Linked DNA regions of Homo sapiens: region 1 is linked to region 2. The links are contacts of gene promoters, found by promoter capture Hi-C in blood cells and fetal thymus (Javierre and others, 2016). All regions are on one chromosome and are shown on one strand. Each heading gives the region's core, a stretch centred on a gene start or on the middle of the fragment in contact. The rest is flanking DNA. Distances are from core to core; before and after follow the strand shown. Region 1 holds the start of SCGB1A1 (secretoglobin family 1A member 1). Region 2 holds the start of TUT1 (terminal uridylyl transferase 1, U6 snRNA-specific).

The links. Contacts are between HindIII fragments. The CHiCAGO score rates a contact against its expected background, and 5 or more counts as called.
Region 1: the fragment with the promoter of SCGB1A1 here is called in contact with the fragment with the promoter of TUT1 in region 2 in 5 of 17 cell types (endothelial precursors, monocytes, erythroblasts and 2 more); the score reaches 7.0 in endothelial precursors.

Annotation. Positions count from the first base shown.
Region 1 is chr11:62,415,349-62,420,717 of GRCh38, forward strand. It overlaps SCGB1A1 (secretoglobin family 1A member 1), which reads left to right and starts at 3,685. Exons shown (of 3, transcript NM_003357.5): 1 at 3,685-3,802. The coding sequence starts at 3,748. LOC102723765 (a long non-coding RNA gene) reads right to left here. Exons shown (of 4, transcript XR_007062699.1): 2 at 1,357-1,502. RefSeq lists a silencer at 2,709-3,003. The HindIII fragment of the contact is 29,364 bases long and covers 1-4,634 here.
Region 2 is chr11:62,589,914-62,596,019 of GRCh38, forward strand. TUT1 (terminal uridylyl transferase 1, U6 snRNA-specific) reads right to left here and starts at 1,610. Exons shown (of 9, transcript NM_022830.3): 1 at 1,491-1,610. The coding sequence starts at 1,572. It overlaps MTA2 (metastasis associated 1 family member 2), which reads right to left. Exons shown (of 18, transcript NM_004739.4): 12 at 6,097-6,106; 13 at 5,839-5,978; 14 at 5,351-5,579; 15 at 5,068-5,157; 16 at 4,603-4,721; 17 at 4,346-4,494; 18 at 3,301-4,127. The coding sequence ends at 3,962. RefSeq lists enhancers at 1,420-2,115, 1,532-1,761. The HindIII fragment of the contact is 7,198 bases long and covers 1-5,175 here.

The DNA of each region.
Region 1 (5,369 bases), core at 2,435-4,934, 170 kb before region 2:
ACAGGCATGAGCCACCACGCCCAGCCTGGGGGCAGCCCCCTTTCAACTCCCGGAGCACCATTTCCTTCTCTGACTTCCTCCATCTCCCCACAGAGCATTCCCATCAGTTGCACCCATCTCTGTCTCTCCTCCTAGCTGTTAAGTTCCTCAAAGACCCAGGAGCCAGCTATCCTGTCCCCAGGACCTCGCACCATGAAGGTGGAAAGTAGAGAGCAGAGTCTGAGGCTATGGGTGATGTGACTCCTGCCTAAGACCCCTGCAGCCATCACAGCTGCCCCGGCCAGACCAGCCACTGCCCACAGAGGGATCCACTAGTGGCGGCACTGGATGGGCTTTAGGTGCCCCCAGTGGTCCAGCTCATCTTCCTTGCCCATTTCAGCTCCATTGGCCACAGCTTTCTTTTGTTTGTTTGTTTGTTTATTTATTTATTTATTTTTGAGATGGAGTTTCGCTCTTGTTGTCCAGGCTGGAGTGCAATGGTGTGATCTCGGCTCACTGCAACCTCCACCTCCTGGGCTCAAGTGATTCTCCTGCCTCAGCCTCCCAAGTAGCTGGGATTACAAGCACCTGCCACCACGCCCGGCTAATTTTTGTATTTTTAGTAGAGAGGGGGTTTCACCATGTTGGCCAGGCTGGTCTCAAACTCTCGACGACCTCAGTTGATCTGCCCTCCTCAGCCTCCCAAAGTGCTGGGGTTACAGGCAGGCTACACCTTTCAACAGTCCCTAAGAGGGGAGGGATGCAGACACCTGAAATCCTCAAGATGGGCTAACCTCAAGAGCCCAGATGATGGGACACAGAAGGAAACTTAAAAGAAAGAAGGCACTTCTGAGATGCTTTATGCAAATACAAGCAAATGCATATGTGGATTCTTTTTGCTTTTTTTTGAGACGGAGTCATGCTCTGTCACCAGGCTGGAGGTGCAGTGGCATGATCTCGGCTCACTGCAACCTCTGCCTCCTGGGCTCAAGTGATTCTCGTGCCTCAGCCTCCCGAGTAGCTGGGATTACAGGCAAGCGCCACCATACCCAGCTTTTTGTATTTTTTTAGTAGAGACGGGGTTTCACTATGTTGGCCAGGATGGTCTCAATCTGACCTTGTGATCCACCCGCCTCAGCCTCCCAAAGTGCTGGGATTACAGGCGTGAGCCACCGCGCCCAGCCTTCTCTTTGTTCTTTTTTGCTCTATTCATGCCTTGTTTTTCCCCCTTTGCAGTCTGCCTTGGAGATCATTTCACCATCAGCTCAGAAGATCTTCTTTCTCTGTTTTCAGCCACACAGCGTTTCATTGTAAGGACACACCATAACGTACTTGACAAGTCTTTGTTGGTTGCTAGTTTAGAACGTGTGCTCTTACCGGTGTTAAGGCGTCTCGGAGTGGGACGGTTCCGGGGTCACCACAGCCTTCAACTGTCACATGGCACAAAGGCCTCATGCATGGATTCATTCCAGGGATTCCTGTTTAGCAAGCGTTGCGTACCTTGGCTTACAGCGGCCTCAGCCCTAAAGGAGGTCAGTCAAGTAAAGGAGTCATACAAGAAAATAAGAATTGCAAAGTTAAAATATTGTATAATGGGCCCTGTAAGCAGAGGGGGAAGAGAGGCCCATGGGGAGAGTCACCACCCATCAGAACCACCTGTCGGGGAAGGCTTCACTCCCTATTTTCACCCCCAACCCTATTTTTCCCAAGTCTTCTCTGTGTCAGGAAATAACACCCCATTCCCCCAGCTGCCCAAGTCAGGGTCAGTTCATCAGGAAAGGGATATCAGACCATGTCACTCCCTGATTAAAACCTTCAAGAGCTTCCCACTCTGAGTGTAAAGGCCTTAGAACGAGGCCTTGTGTGCTCTGGCCCCTGAATGCCCCCTTTGCAGGCACAGCAACCCTTTCGAAGCCCTCAGGCACAATGGGGTCCTTCTTTTTTTTTTTTTTTTCTGAGACGGAGTTTTGCTCTTGTTGCCCAGGCTGGAGTGCAATGGCGTGATCTCAGCTCACCGCAATCTATGACTCCCAGATTCAAGCAATTCTCCTGCCTCAGCCTCCCAAGTAGCTGGGATTACAGGTGCCCACCACCACATCCAGCTAATTTTTGTATTTTTAGTAGAGACGGGGTTTCATCATGTCAGCCAGGCTGGTCTCAAACTCCTGACCTTAGGTGATCCACCTGCCTCAGCCTCCCAAAGTCCTGGGATTACAGGCATGAGCCACCCTGTCTGGCCTTTTATTTGTTTATTTATTTTTATTTATTTATTTATTTTTGAGGAGTTCTTGAAGTGCCACGCAATGCCTCTCCATGTCTATCTACCCCAGTTCCCGACTCCTAGCACCACATCTGGCACATCATAGGTGGTCAGCATTTATTGGATGAATGAATGGATCAATATTTGATTGAGTCTTGAAGTACGAATAGAATTTGGCGAAGTGGACAAGGCAGGAAATGTGTATTCAGGCATGAGGCTTAGCTTGTGCATAGGTAGAAAGGCATGAAAAAACATGGAACATTCTCGAATCCACAAATAGTAAGAGAGGGCTAAGTCGTTGTGTGGGGGAGAGGAGAAATGAAGTTCAAATGGTAGGCAAAGGTCAGTGGGCAAGGGCCTTGTAAATTGCACTTGAATTTTATTCTTTAGGCAAAAGGAAGAGTTTAAGGGTTTCAAGAAGAAGGACACGACCAGTGGGTTTTAGGAAGATCATTCTGATGGCCTTTCAGAGGATGGCTGAGGAGAGCTAGCAGGGAGGCAGGGAGGTCGAGTCAGGGGATTTTGACCAGGCCAGGTTAGGTGCTATGAGGCCCGGGCTTTGGAGAAGAACCAGGAAATGGCAACTGGAGGCAAGAAAGGGGAGAAGGCCAAAGCCTGGGAACCATCAACACTTAAGAACAGTAAAGAATAAACATCTAAAGAGAACAAGAAGGAATGGCCAGAAGAAGGAAAACAGGAAAGAACTGAGGCGTGGGAGCGCAAGAGAGAGAATGGTTCGAGAAGGAAGCAGTCACAGGTGTCAAGGCCATTGGGAGGTCAAGTGAGATAAGGACTGAAGGTCCCACCAATTGGGCCATCAGGAGCACAGGACTTGAGAGCACTTCTGGGTGGGAACAGACCCAGCCTGGGGCAGGGCTCAGGTTTCTGATGGGAATTCTGGAAGGGTCCCTTTTATTCAACATGCTTCAATCCAGGGGCCCCCGAAGTCTGACCACAGCAATGCTCCAAACCATGTGTCTTTCCTGGCTTAAGGTTCAGTCGCCCTCCTCAGAGGGGAGCCTATGAAAGAGCCCAGTGGAGTGTCAGGGTCCTGAGTCCTAGTCCTAGTCCTGTCCCTGCCACTTGTGAGGGAACTTGGGCCTCAGTTTCTCCAGGTGGGCTCCACAATTGCTTCTCTTGATCTGGACTGCCCCAGTGCCCAGGTTCAGTGAGTGACACAGGCAGCTGGGTTTCCACATCCTCTGACTTGGGTTCCCTTCACTGCCTCCAGGCAGGGCTCGGCCCTCCACCCCCAAGTGGCCCATTGTGTGAGCTCAGTTTCAGTGGGGACAGAAACTGGGTTGAGAAAAGGGAATATTTACCTATCCCACCAAGCCAATGCCAAGTAAATAGTGCAGTATCTTATGTAGAGCCCTTGCCCTGCCCTTCCCCATCTGGGTGCTGCTGCCTAGAGCATATAAAAGGCACCTTGCTGGGCATGTCTCATACTAGCCCACCAGACTCAGAGACGGAACCAGAGACGGGCCAGAGCATCCCCCTCCTCCACCATGAAACTCGCTGTCACCCTCACCCTGGTCACACTGGCTCTCTGCTGCAGCTCCGGTGAGTGCTCAGAGACCCTTCCCTCCCTCCTGGACTTAGGAACTCTCAGGACCCCCCAGTTCTGCTCAGAAGAAGGAGTGAGCTGCCCATTCCTGCTCTGGAGCTGCTGGGAGGACCTGGGCATGCTGAGTCTCAGAAAACTGGGTCTGGTGAGCAAGCTCATCTTGGAAACTTGGAGAGAGCCCCAGGCTGTAAGGAAGCCTAAAAAGGGTCCCATCTTCTATATCCAACAACCCTCAGAATCCCAGGGAATGGAATAGCCTGGAGGGAGGAGTGGAGAATACCCCATAAAGATGAGTACATCCAGCATAGGAATAATGAGGCCCTCATCCCAGATCTGGACAGACTCCAAGATGCTGAGACCTTGGTGCAGCCTCCAAGTCTGGGGTCTCCACTCCATGCTGGCAGCTGAAGTCACTGGAAGGGGAGCTGCAGGGACTCGTGACCCCAAAAGAAACCCAACCCAAGACAAGGTCTCTCATTCTGGGCACAGAGGAATATTCCAGAAAGAGAGCTTCCCTTTGGGGAACTGCCAACCCAGAGTGAAGTTTTCTAAACATTTCCGTCCTCTGCAAAAGGGATTAGGAGTCTCTGAGTAGTTGCTGCTGTCACTAAAAGGAAAAGAACTGTGGGGGGAAGAGGGGCAGAAAGAGAGACGGAGAGAGGGGGAGAAAGGAAGGAAAGAAGGATCACAGCTCTCTCCAAGATCCCCCGTCTTTGGGGAACTGGGTTATCTAACTCTGTTTTTCACTCTGCGTCAGCCTCTTCCATTCTCATCTGAAAATGCTGTTGTTATTTTTTAATAAACAAACTCCAATTAATTCACTTGGAAAGCTTCACAACACCCATGGAGATAAGTTTTATGACCCTGGGGAGTTAGAAAACCCAAACCAAGAAGCAGTAGGAACAACTATTTTGCAGAGAGGTTTATTTGTTTTTCAGAGAAAATGACATCATTTTGGACTGAAATGTGTATTAATTAGAAGATCTCAGTGCTGTCTGCGTACAGAGGTGGGTGGCTGAGCAAGATAGGACTGCAACATGTTAAGGGGTGGGTCAGAGATGCATTTGTCTATTTGTGTGCACATGCATACAATATTTAACACTTACTTCACACAATGTGCCAATCACTGTCACCCTTTCACATAATATCTCTTTTCATTCTTTTTTTTTTTTTTTTTTGAGACAGAGTCTCGCTCTGTTGCCAGGCTGGAGTGCAGTGGCGCGATCTCAGCTCACTGCAACCTCCGCCTCCCGGGTTCAAGCGATTCTCCTGCCTCAGCCTCCCAAGTAGGTGGGATTACAGGCACGCACCACTGCACCCAGCTAATTTTTGTATTTTTAGTAGAGACAGGGTTTCACCATGTTGGCCAGGATGGTCTCCATCTCTTGACCTCGTGATCCACCCACCTAGGCCTCCCAAAGTGCTGGGATTAGGCGTGAGCCACCATGCCTGGCCTCTCTTTTTATTCTTACAACAACCCTATGAAGTAGGGATATTGGGCCAGGCACGGTGGCTCACGCCTGTAATCCCAGCAATTTGGGAGGCCGAGGTGGGTAGATCACT
Region 2 (6,106 bases), core at 360-2,859:
CTTCCTCAGATATAAAATGGAAATATCAGTATCTAGCACCTCACACACAGGTATTATTCAGATATATCACTTGGCAGAGAGAGTCTGGTACACGGTAAATGTTGAAAAACTAACCGTTGCTATTATTTTATTGAGTTAGCTGCTTGATGTCACCAAAGTAAATGTGGGGCCAAAGAAGACTCCTAGGTTTCTGGCTTGGCTTACTGGATGAACAGTGATAGTGCCATTCACAGTGAAAAGGAAGAATGGAAGTAAACCCTGTTTAGGGAACACTGTGATTCCAGACTTCAAAAGTAGGGCTGGGCACATTGGCTCACGCCTGTAATCCCAGCACTTTGGGAGGCCAAGATGGGAAGATCGCTTGAGGCCAGGAATTGGAGACCAGCCTAGGCAACATGGTGAAAACCCATCTCTACAAAAAACTAAAAAATTTGCCAAGTAGGCCGGGCGCGGTGGCTCAGGCCTGTAATCCCGGCACTTTGGGAGGCCGAGGCGGGCGGGTCACGAGGTCAGGAGATCGAGACCATCCTGACTAACATGGTGAAACCTCGTCTCTACTAAAAAATACAAAAAATTAGCCGGGCGTGGTGGCGGGTGCCTGTAGTCCCGGCTACACGGGAGGCTGAGGCAGGAGAATGGGGTGAACCCAGGAGGTGGAGCTTGCAGTGAGCCAAGATCGTGCCACTGCACTCCAGCCTGGGTGACAGAGTGAGACTCTGTCTCAAAAAAAAAAAAAAAAGAAAAAAGAAATTAGCCAAGTATGGTGGTGCACACCTGTAGACTCAACTACTTGGGAGGCTAGCCAGGGGTATGGTTTGAGCCCGGGAGGTTGAGGCTGCAGTGAGCCAAGATCACACCACCGCACTGCAGCCTGGGTGACAGAGCAAGACCTTGTCTCAAAAAAAAAAAAAAAGTGGAATTTGAAGTTACAGTGAACCCCTTGTGTGTCATACAAGAACCTTGTCTATTTTTCCAAACCCATCTTCTGTCTCTTCCTCACTGGTACCTTATGGTCTAGTCATTCATGCCACACCTATTTCATCCATCCCCTCCTTTGAGTAGGTCCTCTGTAGGGCTTCTCTGATTTAGTTACTAATTCTCTGTGGTCCCACAGTTCTCCGAACATATCTATAAAGCATTGAAACTTTCTCATTCTCTAGACGGTGAGCTCCTTCATCTCTGAACCCCCCTCCCCCACCCTAAAGATCAGCAGAATACCAGGCACAGAGCATATGTCCAATAGATGATGGTTAAAGAAGTAATAAAACAATTAAACTTGCGTTGTGGAGATTTCATATACTGAGGAGTGTAATGTGGTGGAACTTTCCCGACTCTCCAAATCCCCTCGGACTTGCAGAGAAAAACGGAGGTGAGAGACCCTACCAATCAACTTGACAAGAACGACTGACTACCTATAACCCTAACTTTCGCCAGGATCAAAAGACGAAAGCCCGCAACCACCCCCGGGTCCCTCACTAGCCACCGCTTACGGTTGGCTGTAGTAACGTGGCAGAGGCAGCAGCGGAACCCCCCACGCGGCAGCGATTCGACATCCGAATCCACCGCCGCCATAGCGACTCTCCTGTACCGACAAAAACACAAGCACCTCTGCCACCACCGGAACCCACTTCGCCAAAGCTCAACGCGCTCGGAAGCAACTTCCGCCGATCCGATAGGAAGTGACATAAAGTCGTTCAATTGCGCGGACACACTCCTCCGGAAACCAAGCTCCTTCGACTCTGGGTTCCGTTTCTAGCCGCTGTCCAGTCCCCGCCCGTTTCAGGAAAAGCGGCGCGTTACGATGCTTATCTGCATGCGGTAAGCCGATTGGTGTGCTTTAAGCTGTTCAGACGTTGATTGGCCCAAAGCATCGTGAATATTCATGACAGCAGCCACAAAGGCCGGCGCCGGGTGGCATCTTGCGGCAGCTCCTTCACCCCGCAGTAGACACCCGTGCGTCTGTACCCTCGACCCTTATTTACCCGACGAATAAAGGCGGAGGATCGGCGGCTTCCAATTCTTTGCCCCACGGAGCCCAGGGCTGTCCCTGGACTTCCAACCTTTTCAGGGCTGTTACTCCCTCCCTCCGCCCCCTGTCCTCCCGCAAAACGGGTGTTCTGCGACGGCTTCTAGCCCTGGTTGGGGAGCTCTGCCACCACCGGGCACCTTCCGGACTCCACGAGGTCCTGGAGCCAGGCCCATTCCTTCCGCAGTAGTGGGCTGCGTGGTGTACGCCGGAGGCGCCAGAGCTACTGGCGCACCTCAGAGCAGTGCGACAAGACAAAACCGAGTGCCAGTAACTGAGTTTAGACACTGGAGGGGGCGAATGCTGTCAACCCCCTCCTGGTATAATTGTCAGTTCATCCCAACGCCGCCGAGGTGTAGGCTCAGGACAGGGAGGGACTACGGGGAGCTGGGGATGCCCTAGGGACAGGGACCATAACGAGGTGGAGAGAACTATCAGATGGGCTCAGCAGCTTGTGCTGTGGTTATCAGCCCACAGCTTTGAATGGCGCAAAGAGCAGTGGACCTAAGGCAGACACCAAGGTCTTTGACCTTGAACAAGTCACAACTGTTGAGGCCGTTTCCCATCTCTAAAGGAAGTGCCCAAGGAGCACACAGCAGGCTGAACTTCTTGTTCTCTATCCTAAGGTGTTCCTTCTAATGGGCCCAGCTCAGGCATCTAATCTCAGTGTCCCAAACCTTTAAGGCAGGAAACAGTGCTACAGTGGATCGGGATATCATCGAGACTGGCCTTGAGGATCCTGAAGCAGCAGGCTGTACACATACACCCAGAGGTGCTAGGGTGGTTCAGTGGTAGAATTCTCGTCTGCCAAATACACCACACAGCTAGGTGAGGGGATCCTCCTATAACCCCACCACCACCCCCAAGGGGGTATACATGTTACCCTGGCTGCTAGCAACTTCCAGAATTCCTTAAACAAAAGGGAGAGGGGAGTAAGAGGTGGGAAACAGAGGAAGAAACACCCCCATTCCCCTTTCCTATGGAGGCCACCAGTCATCCAGAAAGCTCATCTCAACTCCTTTGAATGAATCTGGGCCAAGATGGTTCTTGAGCTCCAGCACCACTGGGAGCTGGGGAGCAGTTTGGGTCCCACAAGAAGCCTAGCTGGAGCAAGCCGCCTGGGTCCAGGCTGCCTATCTCATAAAGCTGTTCCCAGGGCAAGAACCATCTGTACCTCCTTTGTTGTCCTTTGTCCTTTATTTTCCCTCTCAAAGACACCCCCAACACACACACAACACACACCCATGGCAAAGAACAGCTGAGCCAGGAGAAGCTGAAGAAAACAGCTTTTTATTTGTTACTATAAGAACCAATTACAGAATCCGAGGTTAAAAAAACGGACAAAAGATCTTTATTTCTGAGAACTGGCGTACAAAAGGCAGAGGGGGAGGGGAGGGAAGGAAAGAGCGAGCGTGGCCTGGGGTTGATGCCAGCTTAGGGGCCTCAAACTCCAATTAGGAAAGTCCGGACACCGGACAGAAAGAGAAACCCCCAATTAGGAAAAAAAAAAAAAAAAAAAAAAAAAAAGACATGGCAGTGCACGCCCCCCTCCCCCAACCAGGTACCACCACCTGTTATCTGTTTACTCTTCCCCTCCCCATCCCCTTTCACAAAGGGAGGCAAAATTTTTAAAAAATTAAAAAACCCTCCCCCCAAAACTGTCCAAGACATCTGTGGGTCCTACCCCCCAAAACAGGCTAGGTTCCCACATGGGCCAAGTTCCTGCAGTCTGTCCTCCATCGGCAAGCATGGAGGCATGAGACAAGTCTCGAGGTGGTAACACCAGAGGGCGCCCAACCCCTCCAGGGACACACACTCACTTGCTCTCTTCCTTAATTCACTCCTCACTCCCTTCGACACGAAAGGGAAGGGAGGTTTGGGTGCCCTGGGCATCCACCCTCTACCTCTCAGCCCACCTCCCTTCCCCACAGGTGCTCAGTCCTCCAGGACAATAGGCTCATTGGTGCTGGCAGGATGTGAGGGTGCAGGTAGAGGGACAGGGGGCCGCACTGCAATCAGCGTTGGCTTCACCTTCAGGGGCAAGTTGGGTCGGCGAGCAGCTCGCCGCATTTCCAGATGGGTCAGAGCCTTCCGTAGGGCCCTGGCCAGAAAGAGCAAGTGGGAAACAGAAAAGGCTTAGAGAACATTAAGACCTCCAGGTGAAGCCCCACACTGCAATTATGCCTTCTGGCCCATTCTTTTCTGGCATCCCCACCCTGCATCCACAACTTTCCTGGAGCTCTTGCTCTGATACTCCTACTCCCCACACTCACCAGCCTGGACTGTCCCTCTCAGCCCCTCCCATGGTAGACGCCTTACCTGGTATCCTTTGTGGCCACAAACACCACAGGATTGGGGGCATCAGCTGGGTTTAGTTTCTGACGCTTGGCTGCTGGCTGTGAGCTTGAACGAATCCCTGAAGCCAGAGGCCTTCCATTGGCAGAGAAAGGAACCCCTGCCCCTGCCATCTGGAAAAGGGGTAGGATGGCACAATGAGGGAAGGGACCCTCTCAGACTCCTATGAGAGACAAAAGCCCACCCAACTCAATCTGGCCCACCCCTTTCTGTCAACTCACAGTCTCATAGGCCCGTTTCACCATAATGCCCCCCAGTCCCCGGTTCTGGGACAGCTGGTTTCTGTTGATCGGTGTCTTGGTACCCCGAGGTGTTTTTGGTTTCAGGGGTGCCTGGGCCACTGGAAAAAAACAGAAAACTTTCGCACCTTTTCTTCCCACGCAGTTCCCCTTTGTTACTTCCATCTCTCTTCCCTGGACCAGCAGTTTACCTGGGCATCCCCAAAAGTAGCAATGGGGGAATGTTCTGGCAAGCTATCACTAGTATTTCAAATATCAGTATGACCTTATCAAATCAGTACAGTAATACTGAATAGTTTACAAAAAAAATTATTAAACAACAAAAGTACAGTTTGTTAGACTAAATCTCTGAGGACACTATGAGGAAGAAAAAAAGCAAGGGGAGAGATGTCAGACAGGGAAAGGACTGGGAGCCTGATGCCAACCTCACTGGTCCCCATCCCATACCCAGATCTTTGACGATAGTTGCCAGGGGCAGCCGCACCAGAGGGTGAATCTTCAATGGAGTCTTGGCGGCCTTAGGAAGTCGAATGGAGCCTGGAGAACAAAGAAGAAAGCTTCTGAAGGGCTTCACCATTCAGGTCTCCTCTAAGGCCAGAAGCCAACTCTAATCTTAAAAAAATTATCTGTGGCCTACTATCCCTCCTGTTATTAGACATCCAGAGAAACAACGGTCTCTGGGCAGAGCAATCCGAAACCCACCACCAGTCCCACCACTCCCTGCCCTTACACTCTGCTTTGATGGCATTGGCATTGATAGGAGCATAAGGCCGTCGGGCGGCCCTCCTTGGCTGTAATAGGTCCCTGCACATGCGTCTGGCAAGACGGGTCAGCTTTGTGGTCTGAAGCAGGAAAGTTTGTCTGTTCTTAGCCAGTAGCTTGGCCCTGTTGGCGCTGGTTGTGTAAGGAGAGAGACTTTGAGCTTCAGGTCTGGATAAATGACCCCTTGAGTGTGGCTCCTAGAAGAAGAGCATAGGAAAGAGAGAGAGCAGAAATCAGCACTGAGGCTCCCTTCTTTCTTCCATTCCCTGCAGGGGACAATTTATTCCTGTCTAATCTCTTTACTGACCTCTTGGCCTATGTGTCTCCCCAACCAGCATCAAGCACCCCGTCCATCAAACCATCACCATATAAAGAGTTGAATATTCTGGCCTTCACCTAAGCTCACCATCAATATGCTTACTGCTCTCCCCTGCTTTTCTTCCCACTGATCCTTACCGTGGTGCCCCGAGTGGCCCCCTCAAGCTGAGTTGGGGTCTTCAGTCCCCCATACTTCTTCCAGTAGATCCAACAGGAAGCACAGAGGCGGCACTGCATGTTAGGTGGGCCCCAGGCATACCACTGAGCAGACTGTGTGGCTGTAGAGTACGGAGAGGAGGGGGACAGGGAAGAAGCATACTACCTAAGCCCCTCAGATTCTTGAGCCACAGCAGGCCTTCCACCCATCCCCACCATCCCAGTGCCCCCGTAACTCACTGTGGCAACT